Regions from separate parts of the Homo sapiens genome. Here region 2 is linked to region 1. The links are contacts of gene promoters, found by promoter capture Hi-C in blood cells and fetal thymus (Javierre and others, 2016). All regions are on one chromosome and are shown on one strand. The core of a region is centred on a gene start or on the middle of the fragment in contact, and the rest is flanking DNA. Distances in the headings are between cores, read along the strand shown.

Evidence for each region. Contacts are between HindIII fragments. The CHiCAGO score rates a contact against its expected background, and 5 or more counts as called.
Region 2: a contact is called between a fragment that was not itself captured here and the fragment with the promoter of TCEAL3 in region 1, in 1 of 17 cell types (activated CD4 T cells). The highest score is 5.3, in activated CD4 T cells.

What each region holds. Positions count from the first base shown.
Region 1 is chrX:103,606,485-103,609,448 of GRCh38, forward strand. TCEAL3 (transcription elongation factor A like 3) reads left to right here and starts at 1,479. Exons shown (of 3, transcript NM_032926.3): 1 at 1,479-1,574; 2 at 2,120-2,189; 3 at 2,554-2,964. The coding sequence starts at 2,581. RefSeq lists silencers at 1,374-1,603, 1,634-1,803. The HindIII fragment of the contact is 12,227 bases long and covers 1-2,964 here.
Region 2 is chrX:103,817,483-103,820,446 of GRCh38, forward strand. It overlaps a transcript of RAB9B not described here. Among named protein-coding and RNA genes, the nearest start is that of RAB9B, 13 kb to the right of the region's middle. The HindIII fragment of the contact is 2,330 bases long and covers 377-2,706 here.

The DNA of each region.
Region 1 (2,964 bases), core at 229-2,728:
GCATTTGAGGTCCTTCAGGGACATTCAGGTGGATATATCTAATCGTTAATTAAAACGGATCTGAATCAAATTTATGCTGAAGTTCATGTAGAAAAACAAACATACAAGAATGTGTTGGAAAAAAGAGAATCTACTGAGGGGACCTAGCTCTACCAGATATATGAAATTATATATCCTCTATAATTCAACTGGTATATGGATAGCAAACAGACCAATGAAATAGAATAAAAAGCCCAGAAGGTTTTCCAAGTACATATGGATATTTGATATGTAATAAAGGTGGTATCTCAAATCCCTAAAGCAAAGATGGACTTTCTGATGCCAGAACAACTGAGAAACCGATTGGAAAAAGAAAACAAAAGATCCATCAATACTTTATGCCATACACAAATATAAACTCTAAATGTAAAGAAAACCATATGAATACTAGAAGAAAACATGGGTGAATGCTTCTTGGACCTTATGTAGGAAAAGATTTCTTAACTATGAATCGAAATCTAGAGGCAATAAAAGTTAAATAAATTTGACTACTTTTTTTAATGCATGGCAGAAAAACACCATAAACAAAGCCAAAAAGCAACTGACAAACTGGAGAGAAAATTGCAACATATATAACAGTTAATGTATTAAGAAAACTTGAAAATTGAGGTGAGAAGGACCAACAACCCACTAGAAAAATGTGGAAAAGACATGAACCGACAATTCACAAAGAAAGATATTTAAATTGTCCTTAAACACAGATAAGGCAAAATAAAATGCCATTGAGATATTACTTCTCAACTATCATATCAGTGAACATTTAAAAGTATGTCATAGGTTATGTTGGGAAGGGCATTGGGAAACAAAACACTCCCCTATATTTCTGATGGGAATGCAAAAATAGGTCTGAGATTCTGGGGAGGGAATAGCCTGGAGATGTAAATCTGGAAGTCATTGGTCTTTACTGGAAATGAATGAGATCAAACAGGGAGACAGAACTTGAGGACTGAGGAGAGAGGAGGCCCAGGACAGAACCCTAGGAACACTGCCACTCAAGGTGGCAGCTCAGCTTCCTGGCAGGCAGCACCACCCTGGGCTCTGGAGTCAGGCAGAGACAGTCTTGAAAGCGGGCTCTGGAGTTCTGGGGCTGAGCGCTCTTGGCAAAGTCGGGTACCCTCTTTGATCAGCTGTCACACCTGGCGATAATGGCATCAGAGAGAGATACCCTGCGAGGATGCCGTGAGATGCGCCAGGTAAAGCACCTGGGGTCAGAAAGCCACCCCCTCCTCCTCTTCTCCGTGACCCCCCTTTGCTACACAAACACACCCCGACCCCGACCGTCCCCAGCCTCCCGGTCCTTCGGGGTTGGATGGTGAGGTGGGTCAGGCAAGGGGGGCCGAGCTCGGGTGACGCGGCGCTCACGTGACCCGCCGGGCGCCTACGTGGGCACCAGCCCCCGCGCCCGCCCGCCCGCCCTGCGGTCCGGTCCTGGCGCCCGCGCAGAACCAGCTGTCTGAGCTGCCCGGGCAGCGGGGGAGCAGCGAGCGGGCTTCCGCGAGCCGGAGAAGGCACAGGCCTGTCCCGGGTCCCGGCAGGTCAGTGTGAAGGTGGGCGCTGCCGGCGGAACCACGGAAGGGGTGGAGGTGGCTGGCAGTAGGAGTAGGGAGGGGCGGAGAAAGGATCCGGGAGACTGGTGAGGAGGGGGAAGCGGAGCGGTCGGAGGCAAGGGCGGGGGAGCCTGGCCCGCCTTCTCGACGACCCCCTGCACTGAGCCGTCCATCCATTTTAGTACTGGAAATGGAGTACGGGGGGGCAACCCCGCAGTGCAACAGTGAAACGTAGACATATTCTGGAAATAACCGCCTCTCACAATCTGCTCCCATGGAAACATCTGACCTCCGCAAAAACGGGGTGGCGCTGGGACAGGTTGCCTCCAGGGGAAGGGGACACAGAGACAAACGCAGTTTGGAAAGCATCCTGGTTTGGTGCCCGAGGCCTGGAAAGAAATGGCGGCTGGGGTGCGGGGGATGTAGGGGAGGAAAACGTTGGGTAAGCAGGGCCTGGACTCAGGAAAGGGAACCGAGTCCCTGTGAGACCGCTGACTGCGCAGCCCCTACCCCTGTCTCCTGTCTGTCCGCAGGTCTGCGCGTCTGTTCCCAGCGCTCTGCGAGGCCTAAAAAGGAGGAGCAACCTGTCCAGAATCCCTGCAGGTCTGTGAAGGTGGTTGTGGGGGAGCTCAATGGACAGGGCCCTATAAGGGTTGAGAGTGTGGAGGGCCCGGCCAGGGCCGAACTGGGGCCCCTGCCCATCCCCCACTCACATGAACACACACCTTACCAGGCTGAACCAGTGCAGAGAAGGTGGCAGGGACTGCCAGGGAATGGCTGGCTCACGTGTGTGGGAGGAGTGGCAGGCTACGTGGTGGGCAGAAGGCCCTCTTGGGGGCCCTGCCAGCTTAGGGGAACCCTCACCAGGGGTGAGATGCAAGTACTATCCAGACCTGCATTCCACCCCATGCCCTCAGTCTCCCATGTCTCTTATTTGTCTCCTCTTCCCTCCATTCCCATCCCCCAGGACAGGAAAAGGAGGGGAAATCTCGACATGGAAAAACCCTACAATAAAAATGAAGGAAACCTGGAAAACGAGGGAAAGCCAGAAGATGAAGTAGAGCCTGATGATGAAGGAAAGTCAGACGAGGAAGAAAAGCCAGACGTGGAGGGGAAGACAGAATGCGAGGGAAAGAGAGAGGATGAGGGAGAGCCAGGTGATGAGGGACAACTGGAAGATGAGGGAAGCCAGGAAAAGCAGGGCAGGTCCGAAGGTGAGGGCAAGCCACAAGGCGAGGGCAAGCCAGCCTCCCAGGCAAAGCCAGAGAGCCAGCCGCGGGCCGCCGAAAAGCGCCCGGCTGAAGATTATGTGCCCCGGAAAGCAAAAAGAAAAACGGACAGGGGGACGGACGATTCCCCCAAGGACTCTCAGGAGGAC
Region 2 (2,964 bases), core at 292-2,791, 210 kb after region 1:
ATGGGATGAAGGGTGCAGCAAACCACCATGGCACGTGTATACCTATGTTACAAATGTGCACGTTCTGCACATGTAACCCAGAAATTAAAGTATACATATAATATATATATATACTCTCTCTATATATACTATATATATGCACACATATATATAAGTTTAGTCTATGGCGGAACACTAACCGGTCTTTATTGCCCCCTTGTGGTTGAAAGTGGAACTGTTTCTATCTCTGCATTTATATTTAACACAAGGCTTCAGAATAATCTGATTATTACAGCAGTAGACTCAATTCAAACCAGTCATTTGACATCATGCAATTAAAGCATCTGGATGAATGAATATTTTTTATTTCTAGCAATTCTTTTATCATGGTGACCAAAGCTTAGATTCATAACCTTTCTAAACAAAAGTAGTCTCGAGTATAATCAGAAACAAAGGACAAATCAAATAAGCACCTCTCTTTCCCCAACCCACCAGTTTTCTAATTTATCAGAACATAACCTTTTCTATAATATGGCAGTATATTTTTAAAATACCATAAACAAAATTAAAAGGCAAGATCTATGGGAGGGGATTGCAGAAAACTAGCAATGTGGATAAGATCAAAGGTTAATACCCACAATATAAAAAAAGATTTCCTTGGAATCAATAAGAAACAAAAATGAATGTTCCCCAACCCCCATAAGGGTCCATTCACTCAAGGAAAAATAAAAATGGCCAATGAATGTATAAACAATTACTCTCAAAAAATTAAATAAATGTAAATGACAGCATGAGATCATTTTTTCACCCATCAGACTGCACATATGGGGTTAAAAAGGAAGATAATAGTCCATACGTTTGGGTGTTGGAAAGATAGTCTTCCTCTTATTCTACTGGTGTTGATGTCATTTGGGATAAGTTTCTAGAGGCCAATTTGCCAGTATATATTAAAATTAATAAAAAATTCATAATCTTTGACCTAGAAATTTTACTAGTAGGAAATAAACAGAGGTGAGAGTTAAGATTGATATTAAGGAACTTCACTGATGCTTTATTTTATGAAAAGAAGGCAGCTGTAAAACAACCTAAATGTCTAGCAATAAGTGTTTTATTAAAAGTTTAGCAATATGGGTAATTGTGGTAAACCCTTCAATACAATATTATGCAAACAGCAAATATAATCTTAGAAGAATATATGTCTTAGAGAAAAGTTAAGTACTATAGATATATATTAAGTAAAAAAGATTACAGTGTGTGCAGTATCAAATCAATTTTAAAAATACATAAATATATTAAAATCTACACTAAAATGTTAAAATCTGCTTATCTCAGGTTAATAGGATTACATTACAGATGACTTTAATTTTTTAAATCTTGCTTTTCTATTTCTTTCATTACTTCATTTTTCTACGGTGGATGTGTATGGCTTTTGTAATCAGAAAAAAAGAACATTTTAAAGCATTTATCGGTCACTCTAAGTTTTCTAGCAGGGAACAAATGGAAAAAGAGAGAACTCAGAGGCTACTGGCACTTGTTCATCTATTAACAGACTCTATGTTGAGCAATATATTACAGGACACACCCTTGGATATGTCGTTTCTAAGGCAGCCAGGAACAACGTAAGAGAAAAGAGATGATATGAGCCTGTTTCTTGCTTCCTCATGAATGCACCACAGGAAAGTGTGATTTGTATTTTTACTCTAATCAATATAGCTAATGTTGAATTAAGAGCTATTTCTTTCATTAAGGCAGCATTTCCCAATTCTTTTTATCAATCAGTTAACTAGATGTGGCACAGCTTGGCAGGTCTGATTAAAATTCAGGAGTGTTATAGTGAGACCATTATACATTTACCCATAGTTCATACAGCACGAAAGGAACTGACAGATTACTTAAAAATACACATGCTTGCACACACAAAACCCACTGTTTAAAAAGACATTTATATATAACTGAATCATCATTCTCTGTGTTTCCTTGGAGAAGGCAAAGAGATTTATGAAGACACAAAGATCACTGCAGCAGTTTCTATATGACTACAGGTGACGACGCCACATCTTGAGCTGTGAAGATGCTTATTTTCACTGGGAAAATATTAAGTAACTTCTTGCCCCCTTAAAAAAAAACCCTTTCACACATTATTACCACTACCATCACTAGCAGAATAAGAGATCCTTGCTCACCAGTTTTGGCAAGCATATCAGTAAGAAGGCATTTAATAATTTTTCCTTTATTCCATAAACATGCCTAGCTTTTGTCATTATCCCTTCCTTCTCTTAAAGAGAAAGTAGTAAAGAATGAGAGCTCTTTTGGTGATGGAAACTTGAGGAAATTAAAATGACCAGTTTGGAAAAAGAAAACATTAGTGAATATCCCAAATCATGCACATTAACGTTTTATCAAAAGGTGTATGCTATGCTCTGAATCTTTTTGTCCCCCTCCAAAATTCATAGGTTGAAATCCTAACCCCCCAAGGTTATGGCATTATAAGGAGATGGGGCCTTTGGAAGGTGATTAGGTCACAAGGGTGAAGCCCTCATAAATGGGATTAGTGTCCTTATAAAAGAGGCCCAGGAGAAACCCCTTCCCCCTTCCACAGAGCTGGAAGGTGCCATCTGTGAACCAGAAATCAAGACCTCACCAGACCCTGAATGTGCGGATGCCTTGATTTTGGACTTCCTAGCCTCCAGAGCTGAGAAATGAAATTCTGTAGTTTATAGCCTACCAAGCTTATGGTATTTTGTTAGGGCAGCCCAAATGGGCTAAGACAGTATATTACAGTTTATCTGCCCTAAAATCAAGTGTAAGAAAAACACTGCACTGTAGTAAATTTTACATTTCCACAGCAAAGAGAGAAAAAAAGTGAAATGATTATCTAGATCACTGAGGAAAAAAAATTGCTGCAAGATCTACTTTGGGTAATTCAAATGAAAGTAGAGATGTCCATCCCACCTCCCAGCTTGAAATTACTCAAATTGATACCTC